5 separate regions of the Homo sapiens genome follow, and regions 2, 3, 4 and 5 are each linked to region 1. The links are contacts of gene promoters, found by promoter capture Hi-C in blood cells and fetal thymus (Javierre and others, 2016). All regions are on one chromosome and are shown on one strand. Each heading gives the region's core, a stretch centred on a gene start or on the middle of the fragment in contact. The rest is flanking DNA. Distances are from core to core; before and after follow the strand shown. Region 1 holds the start of DENND5A (DENN domain containing 5A). Region 2 overlaps NRIP3-DT (NRIP3 divergent transcript). Region 3 overlaps ZNF143 (zinc finger protein 143). Region 4 has its middle 2.5 kb from the start of ZNF143-AS1. Region 5 overlaps IPO7 (importin 7).

Evidence for each region. The method cuts DNA at HindIII sites, captures the fragments that hold promoters and counts their contacts. A CHiCAGO score of 5 or more calls a contact.
Region 2: a contact is called between a fragment that was not itself captured here and the fragment with the promoter of DENND5A in region 1, in 1 of 17 cell types (endothelial precursors). The highest score is 5.4, in endothelial precursors.
Region 3: a fragment that was not itself captured here is called in contact with the fragment with the promoter of DENND5A in region 1 in 6 of 17 cell types (megakaryocytes, naive CD4 T cells, M2 macrophages and 3 more); the score reaches 7.8 in megakaryocytes.
Region 4: a contact is called between a fragment that was not itself captured here and the fragment with the promoter of DENND5A in region 1, in 7 of 17 cell types (megakaryocytes, M2 macrophages, activated CD4 T cells and 4 more). The highest score is 7.3, in megakaryocytes.
Region 5: a contact is called between a fragment that was not itself captured here and the fragment with the promoter of DENND5A in region 1, in 4 of 17 cell types (megakaryocytes, M2 macrophages, activated CD4 T cells and 1 more). The highest score is 7.5, in megakaryocytes.

What each region holds. Positions count from the first base shown.
Region 1 is chr11:9,264,008-9,266,646 of GRCh38, forward strand. It overlaps DENND5A (DENN domain containing 5A), which reads right to left and starts at 1,343. Exons shown (of 23, transcript NM_015213.4): 1 at 954-1,343. The coding sequence starts at 1,062. RefSeq lists enhancers at 1-214, 375-494, 1,575-1,644 and silencers at 785-1,144, 1,195-1,294. The HindIII fragment of the contact is 8,855 bases long and covers 646-2,639 here.
Region 2 is chr11:9,010,882-9,013,520 of GRCh38, forward strand. All of the region lies in intron 1 of NRIP3-DT (NRIP3 divergent transcript), which reads left to right. Among named protein-coding and RNA genes, the nearest start is that of NRIP3-DT, 8.1 kb to the left of the region's middle. The HindIII fragment of the contact is 1,608 bases long and covers 498-2,105 here.
Region 3 is chr11:9,475,561-9,478,199 of GRCh38, forward strand. All of the region lies in intron 5 of ZNF143 (zinc finger protein 143), which reads left to right. Among named protein-coding and RNA genes, the nearest start is that of ZNF143, 16 kb to the left of the region's middle. The HindIII fragment of the contact is 4,989 bases long and covers 1-2,639 here.
Region 4 is chr11:9,456,852-9,459,490 of GRCh38, forward strand. No RefSeq gene overlaps it. Among named protein-coding and RNA genes, the nearest start is that of ZNF143-AS1, 2.5 kb to the right of the region's middle. RefSeq lists an enhancer at 2,530-2,639. The HindIII fragment of the contact is 392 bases long and covers 1,122-1,513 here.
Region 5 is chr11:9,424,474-9,427,112 of GRCh38, forward strand. It overlaps IPO7 (importin 7), which reads left to right. Exons shown (of 25, transcript NM_006391.3): 11 at 441-517; 12 at 673-789. Among named protein-coding and RNA genes, the nearest start is that of SNORA23, 3.0 kb to the right of the region's middle. The HindIII fragment of the contact is 4,305 bases long and covers 1-2,639 here.

The DNA of each region.
Region 1 (2,639 bases), core at 93-2,592:
CATCAGGATGACACAACCTTAAAGTACAACCCGACAAACCTCCACCCACTTGAAACCCACTAACTGGAAACTCCAGACAAAAACTTATTTTCAAAACTGTTACAATTCAAAGACTCCAATGACAGTGCAGTGGAAAATTCACGGGGACTGTATAATTTTCACGGCCTTCTGCAGTGAGTGCCAAATCTGGTCAGGGCCCCATCTTTGACTCCCCTCATCACTTTCCCTTTCAAATATGACTTGAAACGCATCAGAACACACCAAGCCTCTCCAACTACAATGCTGCTACCCTTTTATTCACAAACGCCTCTGTCCTCATAAAGGACATAAATTACTTTTCAAAAAAGGCATGGCCCCGGGATACAAGCCCTTTCCAAGGCTAAGGGAGTTCCTACTCTTCTTGGTGCCGCCCAAGTTCACTTTATTACTTCATATCCCATCCAGACGCGCAGAGCTGCAATCTGACTCAGGGGGCCCAGCCCAGGGCTGGGGTATAACGGTTTTGAGGAACTAGTATCACAAGCTTCTTGGGAAGTGGCCAGATAAACTCACCAAGTTTTTGTTTTCCTTTTTTTTAAGTCTGGGTGGAACTTACTTTCACTAGGACGTGGGACGCCTTCCCTCCCTAATGGGTGCCAGAGGACAAGCTTTCCTTTATTTTAAACGAAGTCACTCAACCTACACCAAACTGAGAACACACAACCCTCCCTCTTTCTGGTCGCCGAAGACGTGGCCACTGCGCAGCGGGCCGTAGGTTTGGACCCCTCATGGCTCAGAGCCCCTCATCCGTTTCCCCCCTCCAGTCCAAAGCCCCCTTCGCCCGCGCCCGCCCTGGTCCTCCCGGCCGACACTCGCCCGGCTCCCGGGACAAAGCGGGGCTGAAGGAAGGTTTCTTCTGGGGTCCCCGACGACAGCGGGCGCGGGAAAGCGCCCCGGGCTCGGCGCGCACTCACCCGACAGCTCGTCCGGCTCCAGCCCGGTCTCCGTGTCCAGTCCGCAGATGACAAAGTAGTCGGCGAAGCGACTGGGCGCCGAGCCCCCTCCGCCGCCGCCGCCACTCATGGCGCCGGGGCCGAGACCGGCCGGGCAGTGCGGAGCGGCACCGAGCCCCCGCAACCCGGGCGCCCGCCCGTCCGCCCTCAGGCCGCCCCTCCCGCCGCCGCCGCTACCGCGGCTCGGGCCGCCGCCCCCGGCCCTGGCCCGGTCCCCTCGGCCGCCGCGGCTGCCGTGACGGGGCGGGGGGGCACCGGGCCGCCCCGCACCGCATCCTGGATGCCTTCCCCTCCGCGCCGCCGCCGCTGCAGCTAGCCGAGAGCGCCGCGGCCCGAGCGAGCCTGGAGAAGGGCGGAGAGCGCGTGGACAGCCCCCACCGTGACCCTCCTCCTACCGCGCCTGCGCAGGCGCCGTCTGGGAGGGGGCGGGCTCCTGGGGGAAAGGATGACGTGATGCTCTTCGGACCCCGCCGGCCGCAGCTTCCCGGGAGGTCGCCGCAGCGCAGCCGGTGACTGCTTGGTCGCCCGCAACTGCCACTCCCCCGGGATTGAGACTCCTTTAGGGAGGGCTGAGGAGGTGCGAGAAGAGTGGGCGCAGCCTGCAGAGCCGGGCATTTGGCCCATGCTCTGCCCCCAACCACCCACCCAGCAAGCAGAGGTCCAGAGATCTTAGCGCGGCCTTGCCATGAGGATGGGGTCTCACGACTGAGCTCGGAAGCTCACCTAATCCTAGCTGCAGCGTGTCAGCCTAGACCCCAGACAGGGCCTTCTCCCTGTCCTCTCTTTTGGCAGGGGCGGATGAGCCGGTTTTATATTTACCCTTATTTTACAGACGGGGAAACTGAGTCTCAGAAAGAAGCAAGGACTTATCCAAGGTTACGCTGAGTCTAAGAGACATAAGCCTGGTCTGGAATCCTGGGCTTGTGGTCAGCTCCCCGTTCCTCGCCGCTCCCACCTCCCAGCCTGCCCTTTTCCCACGCTCTCTCCTTTTTTCTCTGGAAGCCTCCAGAGGCGCCTGCCATTTGGGAGCTCCTCTTCCTCTTCACTCTGTGAAAACTCTCAGATCCACCCCTAAACCTGTTTTCCTGTAAGAGGATAGGGAGGAGGCGAAGGGAAACTTACCTATTGGTCCTTGTCCTAGGACCCTCCGATTTCCTTTCCCATAGAAGCTAGGCAGATGTGTCTTTGTTGGAAACTGGAGATCAGAGGCCAGAAAGGCAACACAGGTATAGTGGTCACTAGCATGGGCTCTAGAAAAAAATGCTCGGATTTCAATCCTGACGATCATTTACTTTTGACCTTGAGCAAGTTAATCTCTAAGTGCCTGGCGTCATGGTTTTTGAGACAATTACATAAGGTAAATGCAAGTACAGGTAAAACAATGAGAATACTGCCTGGAACATGGAAATCACTCAGTAAATATTACAGATTTTTTTTTTCAAGACGGAGTTCTGTCTTGTTGCCCAGGCTGGAGTGCAATGGCGTAATCTCGGCTCACTGCACCTCTGCCTCCCAGGTTCAAGTGATTCTCCTGCCTCAGCCACCCAAGTAGCTAGGATTACAGGCGCGCACCACCACACTCGGCTAATTTTTTGTATTCAGTAGAGACAGGGATTCACCGTGTTGGTCAGGCTGGTCTCGAACTCC
Region 2 (2,639 bases), core at 52-2,551, 250 kb before region 1:
GGTTCTGTATGAAATTTAAAGTAGTTTTTCCAATTCTGTGAAGAAAGTCAATAGTCGCTTGATGGGGAGAGCATTGAATCTATAAATTACTTTGGGCAGTATGGCCATTTTCACAATATTGATTCTTCCTCTTCAAGGACCTCTTCAAGGAGAACTACAAGCCACTGCTCAAGGAAATAAGAGAGGACACAAACAAATGGAGAGTTCTTTATATATTCTAGCTACAAGTCTCTTGTCACACATGACTTGCAAAATTTTTCTCCCATTTTATGAGTTGCCTTTTCACTTTCTTGATGGCTTCCTTTGACTCATAAAAATGTTCAATTTCATTTGCTTCCCTGCAAAACACACACACACACACATGCACACACACACACTTTTTTCTGAACGATTTTAGGATAGATTACTCATACATTATGATCCTGTACCACTAATACTTCATTGTATATTTCCTAAAAATAGAGATTTTTCTCTTATGTAACCACAATACAGATAGAAGCTTGATAAATTTACATTGATACAATACTTTTATCTAAGCTACTATTCATGTTCCAATTTTGTCAGTTGACCATTTATAACACATTCCTCCAGTACAGGATCCAGGCTAGGAGCAGGTATTGTATTTGGTTGTCATGTCTCTTTAGCCTCCTTTAATCTGGAACATTTCCACAGCTTTCTTTGTCCTCCATGACACAGACATTTTTGACATTCAAAATGTTAAAATTCAAAACTGTCAGTGTCATTAAAAAGGGTTAACTGGTTAACACAAAAACCAGTTAACCCTTTTTAGTTACTGGTTTCTGTGTGTGATATAATTCACATACCATAAAATTCACCCAATTCATACAATTGTACTTAATGTGTACAATTCAAGTTTTAAATAAATTCAGAGAGCTGTGCAACCATCACCACAATGACTTCTAGAACATTTCATCGTCCCAAGAGAAACTTGGTACCCATTAATCATTCCCCATTGCCTACCAATTTCTCCAGCCCTAGACAACTAACTTGTAATCCACTTCCTGTCTCTATGAATTTGCCTATTCTGGACATTTCATGTAACTGGAATCATATAATGCATGGTCTTTTGTGACTGGCTTCTTTCACGTAGCACAGTGTTTTCAAAATTCATCCATACTGTAGCATCTATCAGTATTTAACTATGGCCAAATAATATTCCATTGTATGGATCTACCACATTTTGTCTAGCTGTACATTAGTTGATAGATATGTAAGCTGTTTCCACTTTTAAGGTATTACGACTAATGTTGCTAAGAAATCTCATGTGGAAATCTTTTTGTGCCTTTTATTCATCTCCTGGAGTAGAATTGCTGGGTCACATGGTAGCCCGTGTGACTTTTGAGGAATTAACAGACTACTCTCCAAAGCAGCTGCACCATTCTGCATCTCCACCAGCAGTGTATGAGGGTTCCAATTTCTTCACATCCTCTTCAACACTTTTTACCATCTGTCTTTTTTATTATAGCCATGCTAGTGAGGTTGAGATGGTATCTCATTATGGTTCTGATTTGTGTTTCCCTGATGACTAATGATGTTAAGCATCTTTTCAGGTGCTTATTGGTCATTTGTTTGTCTTCTTTGGAAACATGTCTATTAAAATCCTCTGTCCATCTTCTTTTTTTTTTTTTTTTTTTTTGAGACAGAGTCTCGCTCTGTCGCCTAGGCTGGAGTGCAGTGGCGTGACCTCGGCTCACTGCAAGCTCCGCCCCCTGGGTTCACGGCATTCTCCTGCCTCAACCTCCCGAGTAGCTGGGACCACAGGTGCCCACCACCACGCCTGGCTAATTTTTTGTATTTTTAGTAGAGACAGGGTTTCACTGTATTAGCCAGGATGGTCTCAGTCTCCTGATCTCATGATCCACCTGCCTCGGCCTCCCAAAGTGCTGGGATTACAGGTGTGAGCCAACATGCCCAGCCTCCTCTGTCCATTTTTAATTGAGTGATTTGTCTCATTATTATTGACTTGTAAGAACTCTTTACATATTGTAGCTATTAGTCTCTTGTCAGATATATGATTTACAAACATTTTCTACCATTCCATGGGCTACCTTTTCACTTCTTAATAGTGTCTTTTGAAGCACACAAGCTTTAAAATTTCACTGATGTGCAAGTTGTTTTTCAACTTCCCTCCCCTTTTTAAAATAGAGCATTCTTCATTTTGTGTTTGTCTGCATTTTCCTTGTATTGAGATTGAGGTGATGCATTTTTGGCTTGAGTACAGTATAGGTGATGGTACGTTCTTCTCAGGCTATCACATCTGTAGGCACATGATATCCATCTGTCCTTTATTGGACATGCTAATTTTGATCATCTGGTCAAGGTATTGCCTGATTTCTCTGCTGTATAATTACTGGCTTTTTTCCTATCTCATTCATGATGTTTAAAAAAATGAAATTCACTCTTTTCAGTCTGTCTACACTCCGTTAGCACATTGCACTTTGAGTTCTGTACTCTCCCTGGCACATGCTGCACAGTGGTCAGACCCACCTTGGCCAGGCCTGTGTCCTCATGTCTCAAAAAGGGGCTTTGTTTCAATGACCACAGGTTTCATGCAAATTATTCACACCTTGCCACAGTGAGTGTCTTCATTGACCTTGCCTGCCTAGAGACCTGAGTAC
Region 3 (2,639 bases), core at 83-2,582, 210 kb after region 1:
ATGAACCACTTTGCCTAACCTATTTCTTCCTCTTAAATGCAATTTTTTGCCTGGGCATGTTGGCTCATGCCTGTAATCCTAGCACTTTGGGAGGCCGATGCAGGCGGATCACCTGAGGTCAGGGGTTTGAGACCAGCCTGGCCATGCAAAACCCTGTCTCTACTAAAAATACAAAAAAATACAAAAATTAGCCAGTTGTGGTAGTGCATGCCTTCAATCCTGGCTACTAGGGAGGCTGAGGCAGGAGAATCGCTTGAACCCAGGAGGTAGAGGTTGCAGTGTAGTTGAGATCGTGCCACTGCACTCCAGCCTGGGCAACAGAGTGAGACCCTGTCTCAAAAAAATATATATGTGTGTGTGTGTGTGTGTGTGTGTGTGTGTGTGTGTGTGTGTGTATAAAATTTTTAAAGCAAGGTCCTTTGCCTACTATGTTTAATTGAAACTAAGTATACAATGTCAAAAATATTTGAAGCAAATACAGCAAAATGTTAATGCTTATTACATTTGTTTAAGGGAAGTTCAGGGGTTTGAGGTGGAATGTCTAGGAATGATGAGTACAGCTCTGCAACCAGACTATGTATATTCAAAGCTACTTTTTTTTTGCTGTGTGACATTAAGCAGATTACTTTTCTGTGCTTTAGTTTCATCATCTGTAAAATGAGGATTATAGTAGGTGTCCATATCATACGTAGGGTTGTTGTGAGGACAGAATGCACAAACATGTAAAGCACTTAGAACCGTGCTTGTCTCATACTAAATGCTCAATAAATGTTACCTATTGTTACTACTTTAGAGAATATTTTATTTTAATTAATTAATTAATTTATTATTTTGAGACAGTCTCGCTCTGTTGCCAGGCTGGAGTGCAGGGACACGATCTTGGCTCACTGCAACCTCCGCCTCCTGGTTTCAAGCGATTCTCCTGCCTCAGCCTCCCAAGTAGCTGAGATTACAGGTGCCCGCCACTACACCCGGCTAATTTTTGTGTTTTAGTAAAGATGGGGTTTCACCATGTTGGTCAGGCTGGTCTCAAACTCCTGACCTCAGGTGATCCGCCCACTTCAGCCTCCCAAAGTGCTGGGATTACAGGCATGAGCCACTGCACCCAGCTAGAGAGCATTTTATTATAGAATGACATAACACGTTTTAGAAAGGCTGTTTTGTTGTGAAGCCAAAGGGAGGAATCTTTTTTTTTTTTTTTTTTTTTTTTTTTTTTTGAGACAGACTCTCGCTCTCTCTCCCAGTCTGGAGTGCAGTGGTGCGATCTCGGCTCACTGCAAGCTCCGCCTCCTGGGTTCACACCATTCTCCTGCCTCAGCCTTCGGAGTAGCTGGGACTACAGGCACCCACCACCATGCCCGGCTAATTTTTTGTATTTTTTTTAGTAGAGGCGGGGTTTCACCGTGTTAGCCAGGATGGTCTCGGTCTCCTGACCTTGTGATCTGCCCTCCTCAGCCTCCCAAACAAAGGGAGGAATCTTTAAAAAATTTAAAATACTTAAATTTATAAATAAATTTCTTTAATTACAGTTGGAAAAAAGTAAAGTCTGCACCCCTTCCTTCCTTCCTTCCTTCCTTCCTTCCTTCCTTCCTTCCTTCCTTCCTTCCTTCCTCCTCTCCCTTCCCTCCTTTCCCTCCTTTCCCTCCCTTCCCTTCCTTCCCTTCCTTCCCTTCCTTCCCTTCCTTCCCTTCCTTCCTTTTCTTTCTTTTCTTTTCAGCAGAGTCTTGCTCTGTCACCAGGCTGGAGTGCAGTGGTGCAATCTCGGCTCACTGCAACCTCCACATCCTGGGTTCAAGCGATTCTCCTGCTTCAGCCTCCCAAGTAGCTGGGACTACAGGTGCGCGCCACCATGCCCAGCTATTTTTTTTGTATTTTTAGTAGAGATGGGATTTCACCATGTTGGCTAGGATGGTCTCAATCTCTTGACCTTGTGATCCGCCTGGCTTGGCCTCCCAAAGTGTTGGGATTACAGGCGTGAGCCACCACAAAAGGCCGCACTTTTTTCTTTATCAATAAGAGTTAGTCACAGGTTCATTGTAACTGGCTAGATTTATTATTTCACTATCTCTATATATATATCGATATAAAATCACTATTTTATATCAATACCAGTATAGATATAGATATATCTTAGTGTGGACATTTAGAGGGGAAAAAACCACCATGGAGGGACTGTGGAGTCATACTGACATGAGTTCAAATCCTGATTTCTCTACATATTGATTTTGACTGTTAATTGTTAGTGTTTTTTCTTTGTTTGTTTTTGTTTTTGGTTTGTTTTTTGAGAGGGACTCTGGCTCTGTCGCCCAGGCTGGAGTGCAGTGGCACGATCTTGGCTCACTGCAACCTCTGCCTCCCAGGTTCAAGTGAGTCTCCTGCCTCAGCCTCCCCAGTAGCTGGGAATACAGGCGCGTGCCACCGTGCCCTGCTAAGTTTTTTGTATTTTTAGTAGAGAGGGTGTTTCACCGTGTTAGCCAGGATGGTCTCAATCTCCTGACCTCGTGATCCGCCCGCCTCGGCCTCCCAGAGTCCTGGGATTATAGGCTTGAGCCACTGCACCCGGCCTGTTAATGTTTTTTAAATTTTCTGATTGCTAAGGAAAGTGATGTTACTTCTCCAAACCTGAGTTCCCATTTATA
Region 4 (2,639 bases), core at 68-2,567, 190 kb after region 1:
TCCTGACTCAGCCTCCCGAGCAGTTGGGATTACAGGCACCCACCACTATGGCCGGCTAATTTTTGTTTTTTGCTTTTTTGAGATGGAGGCTCGCTCTGTCACCCAGGCGGGAGTGCAGTGGTGCGATCTCGGCTCACTGCAACCTCTGCCTTCCAGGTTCAAGGGATTCTCCTGCCTCAGCCTCCTGAGTAGCTGGGACTGTAGGCGCATGCCACCACGCCCAGATAATTTTTTGTATTTTTATTATTTATTTATCTTTTTGTTTGCTTTTTTGGGACAAAGTCTTGCTCTGTTGCCCAGGCTGGAGTGCAACGGCACGATCTCGGCTCACTGCAACCTCCGCCTCCCGGGTTCAAGCGATTCTCCTGCCTCAGCTTCCCAAGTAGCTGGGATTACAGGCACCTGCCACCATGCCCGGCTAATTTTTGCATTTTTAGTAGAGACGGCGTTTCACCATGCTGGCTAGGCTGGTCTCAAACTCCCGACCTCAGGCGATCTGCCCACTTCCGCCTCCCAAAGTGCTGGGATTACAGGCGTGAGCCACTGTGCCCGGCCAATTTTTTGTATTTTTAGTAGAGACGGGTTTTCACCGTGTTAGCCAGGATAGTCTTGATCTCCTGACCTTGTGATCCGCCCGCCTCGTCCTCCCAAAGTGGTGGGATTACAAGTGTGAGCCACCGTGCCCAGCCTAATTTTTGTACTTTTAGTAGAGATGCGATTTCGCCATGTTGGCCTGGTTGGTCTCGAACTCCTGACTTCAGGTGGTCCACCCTCCTCGGCCTCCCAAAGTGCTGGGATTACAGGTGTGAACCACCGCACCCGGCCTTTTTTTTTTTTTAGATGGATTCTCACTCTGTCACCCAGGCTGGAGTGGAGTGGTGTGACCCTGGCTCACTGCAACCTCCGCCTCCGGGGTTCAAGCCATTCTCCTGCCTCAGCCTGCTGAGTAGCTGGGATTACAGGCGCCCACCACCACGCCGGGCTAATTTTTGTATTTTTAGTAGAGACGGGGTTTCACCATGGCTCGAACTCCTGACCTCGTGATCCGCCTGCCTCGGCTTCCCAAAGTGCTAGGATTGCAGGTGTGAGCCACCGCGCCCGGCCTGAAATAATTGCTTTTAAGCTTAACTCATCGTTTATCTTTTTTCTATATATATCATATATAATTTCTATATATATAGTATACATATATATCATATATAATTTCTATATATATATAGTATACATATATACTACTTTAATGCTTATAGCATGGTATAAATATGCCAAAACCAACCAATTCTCCAGTAAGTTTTAAGTTACTGAAAGAAGTGTTTTAGAAAATATTATCTTAACAGTTTTTGAAGGGGGCTACAAATAAGTTACCTCTTGTTTAGGAAGTTGGGGAAATTATTTAATTTCTGCATTTAAGAGCCTGGACTAGTACTGATTGACAGGGAAACATTTTCAAGCCATTAATTTGACCGGATATAACACGATATAAGGGAAGGGAGATGAATGGGATAACATTTTAAGCTTATGAATGGCTCTGAATATATGTACATTTGAACTCTGTTCTATAGTCACTGGTAAATACTGTTAACACAACGTTCCATTACCTGTGACAAATCAGAATTAGGTTTCTCTCTGAATCCAGTTACAATTATAGCATCCTATCCACCGCCACCATCATCGCCATTCAATTTTTAGAACAACTCAGTAGCTTCTGGGGATACAAAGATGTCCTGTAATTGTTATCTACAATAAGAGGGCGATTTAAAAATTCTTGAGATTCTGTATTATAGTGTTTTAATGAGTAGCCTACAGGCATGGGACTTAGTGGAACTGCATAAAAATATTCTGATGGGTTAAAAAACACCTCCAATTACAAAACACAGATACATGTGGAGGGAACAGAAATTATAAATTAAAACCATTTGTTTTTCAGCTGGGCTACTTCTTTGTAACAGAGAATGTATCCATTGGGTAGGAGACTGATTTTAACTGAGCAAAATCCTCCAGTTAAAAGTAACCTAATCCTTTTTTTTTTTTTTTTTTTTTTTTTTTTGAGACGGAATCTTGCTCTGTTGCCCAGCCTGGAGTGCAGTGGCGCAATCTCAGCTCACTGCAAGCTCCGCCTCCCGGGTTCACGCCATTTTCCTGCCTCATTCTCCCGAGTAGCTGGGACTACAGGCGCCCGCCACCACGCCTGCTAAATTTTTTGTATTTTTAGTAGAGACGGGGTTTCACCGCGTTAGCCAGGATGGTCTCGATCTCCTGACCTCATGATCTGCCCGCCTTGGCCTCCCAAAGTGCTGGGATTACAGGCGTGAGCCTCCGCGCCCGGCCACCTAATCCATTTTTTATATGTGACACTTTTATTTTAAGGGCTTAAAAAGTAATCCGGGCCGGGCGCGGTGGCTCACGCCTGTAATCCCAGTACTTTGGTAGGCTGAGGTGGGCGGATTACGCGGTCAGGAGTTTCAGACCAGCCTGGCCAACATGGTGAAACCCCGTCTCTACTAAAAACAGAAAAATTAGCCGGGCGTGATGGTGGGCGCCTGTAGTCCCAGCTACTCAGGAGGTTGAGGCAGGAGAAATCGCTTGAACCTGGGAGGCGGAGGTTGCAGTGAGCTGAGATCGTGCCACTGCATTGCAGT
Region 5 (2,639 bases), core at 99-2,598, 160 kb after region 1:
GGCTAAGGCCTGTAAATCCCAACGTGTTGGGAGGCCGAGGCAGGCAGATCGTTTGAGGTCAGGAGTTTGAGACCAGCCTGACCAATATAGTGAAACCCCATCTCTACTAAAAATACAAAAATTAGCCGGGCGTGGTGGCAGGCACCTGTAAACCAGCTACTTGGGAGGCTGAGGCAGGAGAATTGCTTGAACCTGGGAGATGGAGGTTACAATGAGCCGAGATCGCCCACTGCACTCCAGCCTGAGTGACAGAGCGAGACTCCATCTCAAAACAAACAAAAGCATTCAATTTGTACAGAAAAGACATTGAATTCTGCTTTTGCAAAATTATAAAGGGATCTGGGATCATTTTCATACCTTATGTAAAGATTAAGCATGTTTTTTAATGCTTTGTTGAAGAAATTAATGTTTATTGTCTTAATTTTAAACTTGTTCTCTAGATGTGTTTGAAGATTTCATTTCTCCTACCACTGCTGCCCAGACACTTTTGTTTACAGCCTGTAGTAAGAGGAAAGAGGTAGGCTTATTTAATGTTTAGATAACTTTTCTGTATTATTTAAAATTTATTCAACTATACACTTTTTAAATGTTAGTCATGTGAGTCATTTTGTTAGTATGTTTTTTAAGGACTGTTGGCCTATTCAGTAACAATACTTTTCTCTTTTAATCTAGGTACTGCAAAAGACTATGGGATTTTGTTACCAGATTCTTACAGAACCAAATGCTGACCCTCGAAAAAAAGATGGAGCCCTGCATATGATTGGCTCTTTAGCTGAAATACTTCTGAAGGTATTCTTTAGTGTGTTTGTATGTGCATGACTATGCAAGTAGTTTTAAAAAATAAATAGCCAGCCAGGCACAGTGGCTCACTTCTATAATCCCAGCACTTTCGGGATGCTGAGGCAGGCAGATTGCCTGAGCCCAGGAGTTTGAGAACAGCCTGGGCAACATAGTGATACCCCCATCTCTATAAGGATAAAAAATAGGCCGGGTGTGGTGGCTTATGCCTGTAATCCCAGCTATTTGGGAGGCCAGGGCGGGGGGATCACCTGAGGTCAGCAGTTGAAGACCAGCCTGGCCAACATGGTGAAACCCCGTCTCTACTAAAAATACAAAAATCCGCCGGGCGTGATGGCTCACGCCTGTAATCCCAGCATTTTGGGAGACCGAGGTGGGTGGATCATGAGGTCAGGAGATCGAGACCATCCTGGCTAACACAGTGAAACCCCGTCTCTACTAAAAATAAAAATAAAAAATTAGCCGGGCATGGTGGCTGGCGCCTGTAGTCCCAGCTACTCAGGAGGCTGAGGCAGGAGAATGGCTTGAACCCGGGACGTGGAGTTTGCAGTGAGCCGAGATCACGCCACTGCAATCCAGCCTGGGCGACAGAGTGAGACTCTGTCTCCAAAAAAAAAAAAAAAAATCAGCTGGGCATGGTGGTGGGCACCTGTAATCCCAGCTACTTAGGAGGCTGAGGCAGGAGAATCACTTGAACTTGGGAGGCGGAGGCTGCAGTGAGCCGAGGTCATGCCACTGCACTCCATGCTCCAGTCCAGGCGACAGAGACTCCGTCTCAAAAAAAAATAAAAAAATAAAAAATAACAACCTTATGGAGTGTACAACTCAGTGGTTTTTAGTTTATTCACAGTTGTATAACTATCACCCCCAGAAGGAACTCTGTATACATTAGCAGTCACTCCACATATCACCCCAAATCTCCCAACCCTAGGCTACCTATAGTCCACATTTTTTCTATGGATTTGTTTATTGTGGACATTTTATATAAATGGAATCATATAATACGTAGCTCTTTGTGGGTGACTTCTTTCATTTAGTGTAATGTTTTCAAGGATTATCTGTGTTATAGCAGGTTTCAGTACTTTTTCCTTTTTGTTGCCAAATTATATTTCATTATATTAATATACCACATTTTATTTACTCATTCATTAGTTGTTTCTACTTTCTGGCTGCTTACAAATGTTGCTGTGAACATTCATGTTTAAATTTTTATGTGGACATACGTTTTCATTTTTCATGGGTATATACCTAGGAGTATGAATTGCTTGTCATAATTTGAGACACCGCAGAACCCATTTTCCAACGTAGCTATACCATTTTATATTTCTGCCAGCAGTATATTTTGATTATAGCCATCCTAGTGAACGTGAAGCATTATGTCTTTGTGGCTTTGAAATTTTTCATGTGCTTACTATCCGTTTGTATATTTTCTTTAGAGAATATCTATTCAAATTCCTTGCCCCAAAAAAATTGCTTGCCTTTGTTTTTTTTCTTTTTATTTTTTGAGATGGAGTCTTGCTCTGTCACCCAGGCTGGAGTGCAGTGGTGAGATCTTGGCTCGCTGCAGCCACCAGTCTCCCACATTAAAGTGATTCTCCTGCCTCAGCCTCCCAAGTAGCTGAGATTTCCGCCTCCCCGCCCCCCCGCCATATGCTGGAGTGCAGTGGCGCAATCTCGACTCACTGCAACCTCTACCTTCCGGGTTCAAGTGATTCTCATGCCTCAGGTGCCTGCCCCCAGCCTAATTTTTGTATTTTTAGTAGAGATGGGGTTTTGCCATGTTGGCCAGGCTGGTCTCAAACTCCTGGCTTCAGGTGATCCGCCTGCCTCAGCCTCCCAAA